3 separate regions of the Homo sapiens genome follow, and all the other regions are linked to region 1. The links are contacts of gene promoters, found by promoter capture Hi-C in human tissues and cell types (Jung and others, 2019). All regions are on one chromosome and are shown on one strand. The core of a region is centred on a gene start or on the middle of the fragment in contact, and the rest is flanking DNA. Distances in the headings are between cores, read along the strand shown. Region 1 holds the start of SLC6A11 (solute carrier family 6 member 11). Region 2 holds the start of LINC00606 (long intergenic non-protein coding RNA 606). Region 3 overlaps SLC6A11 (solute carrier family 6 member 11).

What was found. Contacts are between HindIII fragments. The study calls those that stand out against the background at their distance.
Region 2: a fragment that was not itself captured here is called in contact with the fragment with the promoter of SLC6A11 in region 1 in 1 of the 25 tissues and cell types used here (aorta).
Region 3: a fragment that was not itself captured here is called in contact with the fragment with the promoter of SLC6A11 in region 1 in 1 of the 25 tissues and cell types used here (IMR-90 fibroblasts).

Annotation. Positions count from the first base shown.
Region 1 is chr3:10,814,756-10,817,591 of GRCh38, reverse strand. SLC6A11 (solute carrier family 6 member 11) reads right to left here and starts at 1,364. Exons shown (of 14, transcript NM_014229.3): 1 at 1,071-1,364. The coding sequence starts at 1,326. The HindIII fragment of the contact is 14,406 bases long and covers 1-2,836 here.
Region 2 is chr3:10,762,956-10,765,791 of GRCh38, reverse strand. It overlaps LINC00606 (long intergenic non-protein coding RNA 606), which reads left to right and starts at 1,583. Exons shown (of 3, transcript NR_152730.1): 1 at 1,583-1,731. The HindIII fragment of the contact is 6,271 bases long and covers 1-2,836 here.
Region 3 is chr3:10,857,643-10,860,478 of GRCh38, reverse strand. All of the region lies in intron 5 of SLC6A11 (solute carrier family 6 member 11), which reads right to left. Among named protein-coding and RNA genes, the nearest start is that of SLC6A11, 43 kb to the right of the region's middle. The HindIII fragment of the contact is 3,362 bases long and covers 1-2,836 here.

The sequences.
Region 1 (2,836 bases), core at 115-2,614:
GCTGGAGGGGCAGGGGCACAGCAAAGAGAAGAGAGAATATACAGATACAGGCTCTTCCTTCGAGAAATTGTGCCACCGAAGGAGGTTTTATAAGATCCCTTGCCATGGACCCGCCCAGCTGTCCTGCCGATATGACAGGAGGGGGTCCTGAAGGCTGGAGCCCCTTCCCTGAGCTGGGAGAGTTACGGATTCGCTGCTGCATCTTTTGCCAAACTGACTTTGAGAGGCTGTCACCAGAAAGGACTCTCTCATCACTGTCCTTTCCCTCTCCCCTTCTACATCTCTATGCAGAGCATCAACATTAAACCAGTATTGCTGTTTGTCGTGGGTGACTCTCAGACCCGTAAAATAAACTGTTCGTTGTCAATTCTTCCACCAGAGGGGCCCCAAATATTGGCCCTAGAAATGGGCTTAAGAGCAGACGAAAGACTAGGCAGGAAACCATAGAGCAATGCCTCGCCTAAAAGTTCTCCCTGTTGTGAGTCCAGTCCCAGTTTAAAATAGGGCCTTTGACATCAGAATCTCATCTTTATTTTTGGTCGAGTGAGACTTCTCTGACCCTCAGTGTCCTCACCTGCAAAATGGGTAGACCCCTGCCTACGAAAGTGACTGAGAGGATGAGATGAGATGATATGGTCAAAGGTGCTCGGCACTTCAGTAAGCGCGCAAAAACTGAGACCACTTTGATCATCAGGAGTCCCTTCCCCACAGGCCGTTTTCCCAGTTAGGAAAGCTGAGGCTCCAAGGGGCCAAGTGCCCGAAACACCAGGGCGCCTACCCAAAGCAAGGGCTCCCTGGCCTCGGTCTGCATCTCATGCTGGGGACAGAACGCGGGCAAGTCCCCGCGCTGGCAGGTGGAACCCTCAGGTGCGAATTGGCACGTGCGCGTGCGCACTGGCACAGGTGGGCCGCGCTCCGGGGCGAGCTCACACGCGAGGTGCCTGGAGTCGAGGTTCTCCGCTCGGGTTCCGCTCCACGCAGGCGCGGGAGGGGGTCTCGCGCTCGCCCCTGGCTCCCCGCCCCCACCGGGCGGTTGGCGCCCCCTCCCCTTCTCCTCACTATCACCTCACCTCCTCCGTTCTTGTAGCACAGGTAGGGGAAGCGCCACACGTTGCCCAGCCCAATGATCTCCCCGGCCACGCTCAGCACGAACTCCACCTTGTTGTTCCAGTGGCCGCGCTCGTGGACCGCCTTGTCGCGCTTGACGCGCGGGTGGCGCGCGGGCGCCGCGCCCCCGCTGCTGCAGCCGCCACCCGGCGCCTCGGACTCCCGCGCCTCCTCAGCAGCCTTCCCATTGCCCAGGGGCAGCGCCTTCTCCGCCGTCATGGCCGCGCTGGCTGCCTCGTGCGCCGGCCCGGCTCTGCGCCGCCGCCCCGGGCGAGCTGGCTTTTCAGGAGGCGCGAGCGGGCGGGAGGGGGAGGCAGGGGGTGGAGCTGAGGGACCGGGCCAGACCAGCGCGGAGACTGGGACTGGGACGCGCCGCGGAGGCCCGGCCCGCAGGGCGCCCACGCCACCTCAGCCCGGCTGGGCCCGGGAGCCCGCGAGCACCTTGAGCGCGCGGAGCCCCTGCAGCGCCCGTCCTTCCCGCGGCCCTGCCCACTGGCCTGCTGGGCCAAGAGTGGAAGCGCCCATTCCGGCCTAGGCCGGCTCCACTCACCAAACCCCAAAGTTCTACCACCGTCCATAACCTTCAAATGCTTGGGCCTCGGTTTCCTGTTTCTAATAAGAGGAATGGGCTCTAGACCAGACTTCTCCAACTTGAACTACACACCAGACACCTGCGGGTCTTGTTTAAACTACACATCACGGTCTAGTAGGTCGCAGTAGGCTGAAGAGCCTGCGTGTCTGACTACCTCCCCAGGGACGCTGATATGTCTGGTCCAGGGACCACACCTTGAGGAAAAGGCAGTAAATGAATTCGTGGCTTCTTCCCAGCCCTAGACACTCTGCAGGTCTTGTTCATACTGGTGTCCGCAGCTCTCAACATAGTCAGGACCGTGTGGCAGTTAAGTGCTTGCGTCTGGAAACAGGTGAATCTAAGTTGTGTGATTTTGGCCAGTCATCTGATCCCTCTGTGCCTCAGTTTCCTGATCTGCAAAAGGTAATATCAGTAGTATCTTGTAAGTTTTAATGTAGGGGATGGATTTTTAGGTAAAAGGTTATTAAGAAATGCTTATAAAGGTCTTGATACCTTGAAAGTGCCCAATGAACATTACCCATTGTTAGTATTATACAATATGTAGACCTACACACATTTGTCCATCTTCTTGTATAATATTTGTCTCCTCACTTAGTTGTAAGGATGATATACACTGTCCTGTTCATTATAATAGCAACATAACCTAGCACAAGACTTGGTGCATAGTATGTGCTCAATAAATGTTTGTGGCTAGAGAGGAAGGGAGGAAGGTAGGAAGAGGAAAAGGGGAAGAAGGAAAGACTATTAAGCTGCTGGGGGCCACAGAGATGAACACTTCCACCTCTTCCATTGCACAGGCCTGGAAAAGTCCAGCCACATTGAGCCCCCACCAACCCTACTCTCCATCTGTCCCTCGGAGCTCCCTCTGGAGCTCTCTTAGGGACAGGCTCCTTGCTTTGAAGCCTTCAAACTCCTGCCTTCCGCTTCTCCTTTCATTCTGGCTCACAACTGCTCAAGTCGCTCCCAACCTCCATCTCCCCAGAAAGCCCTTCCTTCCACCATCTTCCCGTTTCCCCTCCCCCCACTATCATATTTCTTGAAAGAGTAAGTTGACAGGCTGCCAGCCCTGTCTTTACCTCCCACACGTTCCTTGGCCCACAGCAATCTGGCACCCACCCCCACCACTCCTCTGAAAAT
Region 2 (2,836 bases), core at 163-2,662, 52 kb after region 1:
GACCCAAAAGATGGGAGTCAGCGAGAGCTGTGTTGTGTGGCCTTGAATGCACTAACTGATACAAAACTACATATAAAACTACATATAAAGCATGGGGAGAGTAGACACAAAATTCAGCACAGTGGTTACCTCTCTGGGGTGCGGGGGGAGGGGCTGGCAGGGGCAGTCTTGGGGTTGGTCTATTTTCTCAGCTGGGAGGTGGGTTCAGGGATATGTATTTCATGATTCTTTATGCCTTTCATGTACATTTTATATTCCTCTTTGGAATGCATGACATAGACTCCATAATAAATTATTGTAAAATTATCTGGGGACCAGATAAAACCTATTTGCTGGCCGCATCTAGTCCCTAGGCCACCTGTTTCTGACACCTCCCTTACAGATAACAAAACTTGGACTCTGAGGGCTTTCAGCCACGATATATTGCTTCGTTTTACATTTTTACAAATTGGGAAATTTCACATCAAAATAGAAATGTTCAACTCCCTTGAAAGACAATCAGAAGATCAGACAGGGCTGGACCCACGTTTCTACAGGATAACAGCTGCCAAAGCTGCGTTGCTGGGGATTTGCTAGGTGGGGCGGAGTGCCTTCTGCTCCAACCCCAGAGCAGCATCCGTCCTTCCTGTGACCTTTCTGTCCTCCCCTATAGACGTCTGAGCCGAGCTCACAAATGGGAGAACCTCTCCAATGGTTCACCCATGCAATGCCCTCGGTGGAGAGCCCAGCACAGGCCCAGTGCTAAATAAGGCCACTCCTTGTCATTGTGGTTAGAGAAGATAACTCCAACACTCGAGGGGGCAGCCGGGCTTAGTGTCCTTGTCCTGAGCCTGCTGAGGTGCTGTGATGAGGCCAAGGTCACCGTCTGGACAGCAGTGCCATCAGGACTCCACCCAGTCCCTGGGGCGTATCTGCAGGTACATTGGGCCTCAACTCCAGGGAGCAGGGGCCAGGCCGAGCTCCCCAAGGCCTTGGGTGCCCCAGCCCAGGCCAGCTGCTCTGACAGAGCCCACACTTTGTAGCCAGAGGCGAGGCAGGGGCAGTGGGGGAGACCTGCCAGACAGGTGGCATCTCAGGCCTCCGGGATGAGTGGGACAAAGGGATGCGCTTGAGTTCCGCCTCCCAGAGCAGCTCCTCCCCTGGCCGGGGAACGGAGGTGGACTTCGGGGCCTGAGAATCCTTGCCAGCGGATGGAGGCTTTGTTTGCCTCGCTGAGTCCCCAGACCAGGGGCCGGCCGGAGAGAGGGCTCTTTCCTGAGAGGCTGGACTTTCCCACAGGAACAAAGTGGGGCTTGTTAGCCGGGCATGAATCTTGGCGTGAAGCGGCCCAGGCCAGGCTCGGCGCTGCCAGGCGGCGGCTCCGCGATATCAGGCAAATTCCGCCTTCCCCACAGCTGGGGCTGACAGCAGGAAGCCCCAGGGAGGCTCCGGACAAAAGCAGAAAAATGGGCCACGTTTATTCATTCACTGACCAGCCCGGGCCTGGCTGGCCCGGGGGCCCTGTCTCCATGGCTACGGGCGGCCTTCAGCTCTCCTGGTTGGCTCCTCTGTGACCACAGCCCCTCCACTGCCACACACCCCAACACATAGAGACACAGCATCATGAAGGCAGAGGCTGCCTCGGGACGGCTCTGCCCCAGGGAGCGTGGGGCCATCTGAGCCAAACAGAATAGAGGGCTTGGACACAGCCCCGGATGTGAGTTGAGCTCTGAATGTCAAGACCAGTCCTGGGTGAGTGAGGGGAAGGCAACAGGTTCAAATCCACACATCAGCTAAGCACCTACTGTGTGCGGGGCAGGGGTGCGTCCGTCATGCCAACTCGGTTTGTTCTCACTCCTCTGGTTCGAAAATAGAGGCTGGGGAGCCCATTGAGGGAGGCACACCCTTTGCCTTGGGAAGGTATCAGGCAGGAACTGTCATCGGCATTGAGTCTTGAAGGATGCATAGAAGTTTGCCAAGCAGGGAGGCAAAGGTCATTCCCGGCAGAAGGAATGGCTTGAGCACAGGCTCCGAGGCCTGCAAGTAATGTGTAGTGTGATTAGGGTAACTGAAAGGCTCTCTGAACTGGAGTGGAGGGAAGAGGACGCAGCTGAAAATGAGGCAGTTGTGGGGGTGGGACGACCGTGCAGTGTGACTCAGAGAACCGGGGCCATCTGCTCCCCTGTCACTGTCCTGTTAGAAAAGACCCCCAGTAATTCTGTGAGTTGTGAATTTCAGAGAGGACAGAGGTTAACGTACAGCTAATACTTTGCAGTTTACAGAGAACTTTCATATATTCACGTGATCTTATTTAGACCTATGACCACCCAGCTGGGAGGGAGCTGACAGATAAGGAAACTGAGGCCCAGAGTGGTGCTGGAGGTCTCTGAGCCAGGAAGTGGCCCGTCGGGACTGGAATGCAGGGCCCTGAGCCTGACAGCACTCTCCGGGAAGGGGCTAGAGCCCCGAGGGATGAGCGAAATGATCATGATCATCTTTGTCCCATGCTTGCAAGTTCTAGAACTGCTACAAAGGAGCAGCCACGAGTGTCCCCCGCTCCCAGACCACTCCAAGCTGCTTCTAGAGGGACTGGACATCCTGGAGCAGAAACAGGTCTAAATCCCAGGCAACTTAGAATCAGGGATATGATGAATGGGTCAGAGCCTGGGAGCAGGCACAAGAGAGGCTGTCAATGTCTGATGGCCCGGACCACCCTTCCTGTCTTTCACGGGCCCACTCTGCTTCTCTGGCCCTGGGTCTCCCAGATGGAGCCAATGGGCTGGGCCTGCAAGAACGACCTTGGGACCCAAAGGCTGGTGGGAGGGGGGTGCCATGAGACACTGCTATGACGTAGTGC
Region 3 (2,836 bases), core at 220-2,719, 43 kb before region 1:
CATCTTCACTCTTGTGCTCTTCTCTCTTGCATTCTCATCCTGGCTGTCCCACTTGTTCCCAGAGCTTCAATTCCATCAGTTCTAAGAAACATGTTTTAAAAATGGTTCACCTTATTATCTCTGAAATCAGGATGGCTCCCACATGGCAGCTGCAATGTAGTTTCCACTGCCGGAATGGAAGGGACCAAGGGCATAGCTGTTCCTGTTTCATCACTATAGCTGAGCTAAGGGTTTTGTTAGATAAAATATTTTAAATTAATTTAGTCAATTGCTGTGTGAGATTTAGAATGTCTTTTAAAAAGATTACACTATGTCTCTGTAGAAAGGCACAGAAATAGGGATAAATTTTGATACTGTAAAGAAAATAGAAATCATTGGTGAGATGATCACACTTCCATATTTTCTTGCAAAGAAACAGCCAATTACTTTATGGATCCAAGAACCCCAAGTAAATGAAGCTATGTTACATTCTGTTACCACAAACTGGTTGCCAAAAAATACCCCAGAAAACACACCTGAGGTCAGAAGAATCTGCCAATTCCTTTGGAAGAAACTTCAAAGCAACAGTAGAGTCTGGTGTGACTATTCCACGTGTCACACAGGAATAATGTTAAAGCAGTGGATAGTAGATTAATTGGAAGTGTTTATACTTCTGGTAAATGTTCTTAATTGAAAGCATTATGTACCTTCTGGTACATAAAATAATGATGTAACTTAGATTAGACAAAATATGGCATATTAGAGGTTTCTCATTTTGGGAAGACACAGGTCCCTTAAAAATAAGACGATATCTACAGACCCTCACCCTAGAAAAAAGTACATATCACACAATCTCAGAATTTTTATACAATTCCAAGGAGCTCATGGATACCTTGAAACATCCACAGGCTCCAGGAAAAGAAATCCTAACATACATGCTAACGATTCCACTGCACACATCTCTCACCTGAGCTCAGACATACCTGTCTGCTACCCAAATATCTCTACTTGCAGAGTCACAGACATTGCAGAGTCACAGACATTAATGGGTCTACTTGCAGAGTCACAGACATTAATGGGTCCTCAAAGAATGGTCTCCCTCAACTCCAGCCAAAACACTGCCTCCTACCATATTTCTCCATTTCGCCTACCAGCACCACTGAGCACTGGGCACTCAAGCCAGAAAGCTGGGCTTCATCTTGGGCTGCTGTGTCTCCTTTACCCTCTACATTGGGTCACAGAGGGCTGACTCATACTCTTGCTTATTTCACAAATTCTTCCTCTCTCTCCACCTCAAAGTTGTCACTATCTCCTACCCAAACTACTTAATGGCATGTGTTCTGGTCTCAGCCCCCTCCTATTCATTCCACATGCCACATTTTATGGTGGCCTTTTTATAAAGCTTGGTCATAGAATCCCCTGGCTTTAAGCCTTTTGGTGCCTCTCCATTGCTCTCAATTTCTTACTAGGCTTGTCTACAATCCCTTCATAAGCTGATCTCTACCTACCAATCCAGCCTGTTTCTCTTCATATACCCTCGAGGGCTGCCCATTCTGGGCATAAAGAACTTGTTCCATTCCTTTCCAGAGCCATGTTCTCTCTCTCTCTCTGGACAATCCCATATGCTGCACAGGACCAAGTCTTAGATATTTGCCTTTATGTCTCCTTGACTTACCAGAATACCTAAAACCCAGTAGGTGTTTAATAAGTGCATGTTGAATTAATTTGAAGGCACATAGCTCCGTAAAACAATAACTCAGTATTAAATGCCATAGTGAGACAGAAAAACAGAGGGGCTTCCAGTCCCAGCTCTGTGACCTTGAGCAGGTTACTGTACCTCGCTAAGCCTCAGTGTGCCCACCTATAAAGTGGAAACAAAAATACCTACTTCAAAGAATTATTGTGAAGATTAAATGACATAACATAAGTTAGTGATTGCAACAAGAGCAGTACATCCTCTAAGGGGCAACCTGGAGACATGTAGAGGCATTTCGAGTCATCATAAAGATGGAGGTGATGCATTTGATGGCAAATAACTAGAGATGCTGGGAATCCTACAGTGTGGGGGACCATCCTCACACAGCAAAAAAACTCTCCTGCTTCTCAAGATTTCTGCATGTTCCACTTCCTGTGGGGTGGGGAGGAGCTGTTTATAATTATTCGAGTGAGAAGCTAACTCTGTTTTACATATATCCTCGAAGATTTTTTTAACCTCATTTTAATATAGACTGAATTTTCCAGAAATGCAATTACCATGTAAATTGAGGAAAGGCTGTCTCTTTAATTCAGTACTTTACCAAGCATTGTTCATCATTTCAGAAAATCATGTCACTAATGGCTGTACTGTCCGTGGAATGTGAGTGATTGACACAACCACCCTTTTATTAGTCACTATTCCAGCTATTGCATTCGTGGTGATTCTATAATAACATATGTGGCTAGTTCTTATTTAAAAATGTAAAACATGGAGAAAAAGTATAGACAATATTCAGTGGTGCATCGGCTCTCCTGTCTCACATCCATATGTATTTCTTACAAGCTGGTGCCAGCACCTGACTACTTCATTATGTTTTCTTGTGTGCTCGAGCATTTACATATTGAAATACATGCTGTTTTATTTATAATTTGCTCTCTTTTTGCTTTTCCTTTATAATATAGCTAGGGCATCATATCAATTTTCTTGAACTTATCTGTGCAGGCAGATTATTTATGAGTTGCGTTTCAGGGTGACAAAAGCCATGTTACAAAATCCTTGTCACAAACAAGGGGTGCAGGGTCTGTGAGTGGCTTGTAAAAGCCCTGGCACCAAGGCTGGCATAGAGTAAGCATTTGTTTCCTGGGTGTTGGTACTATTATT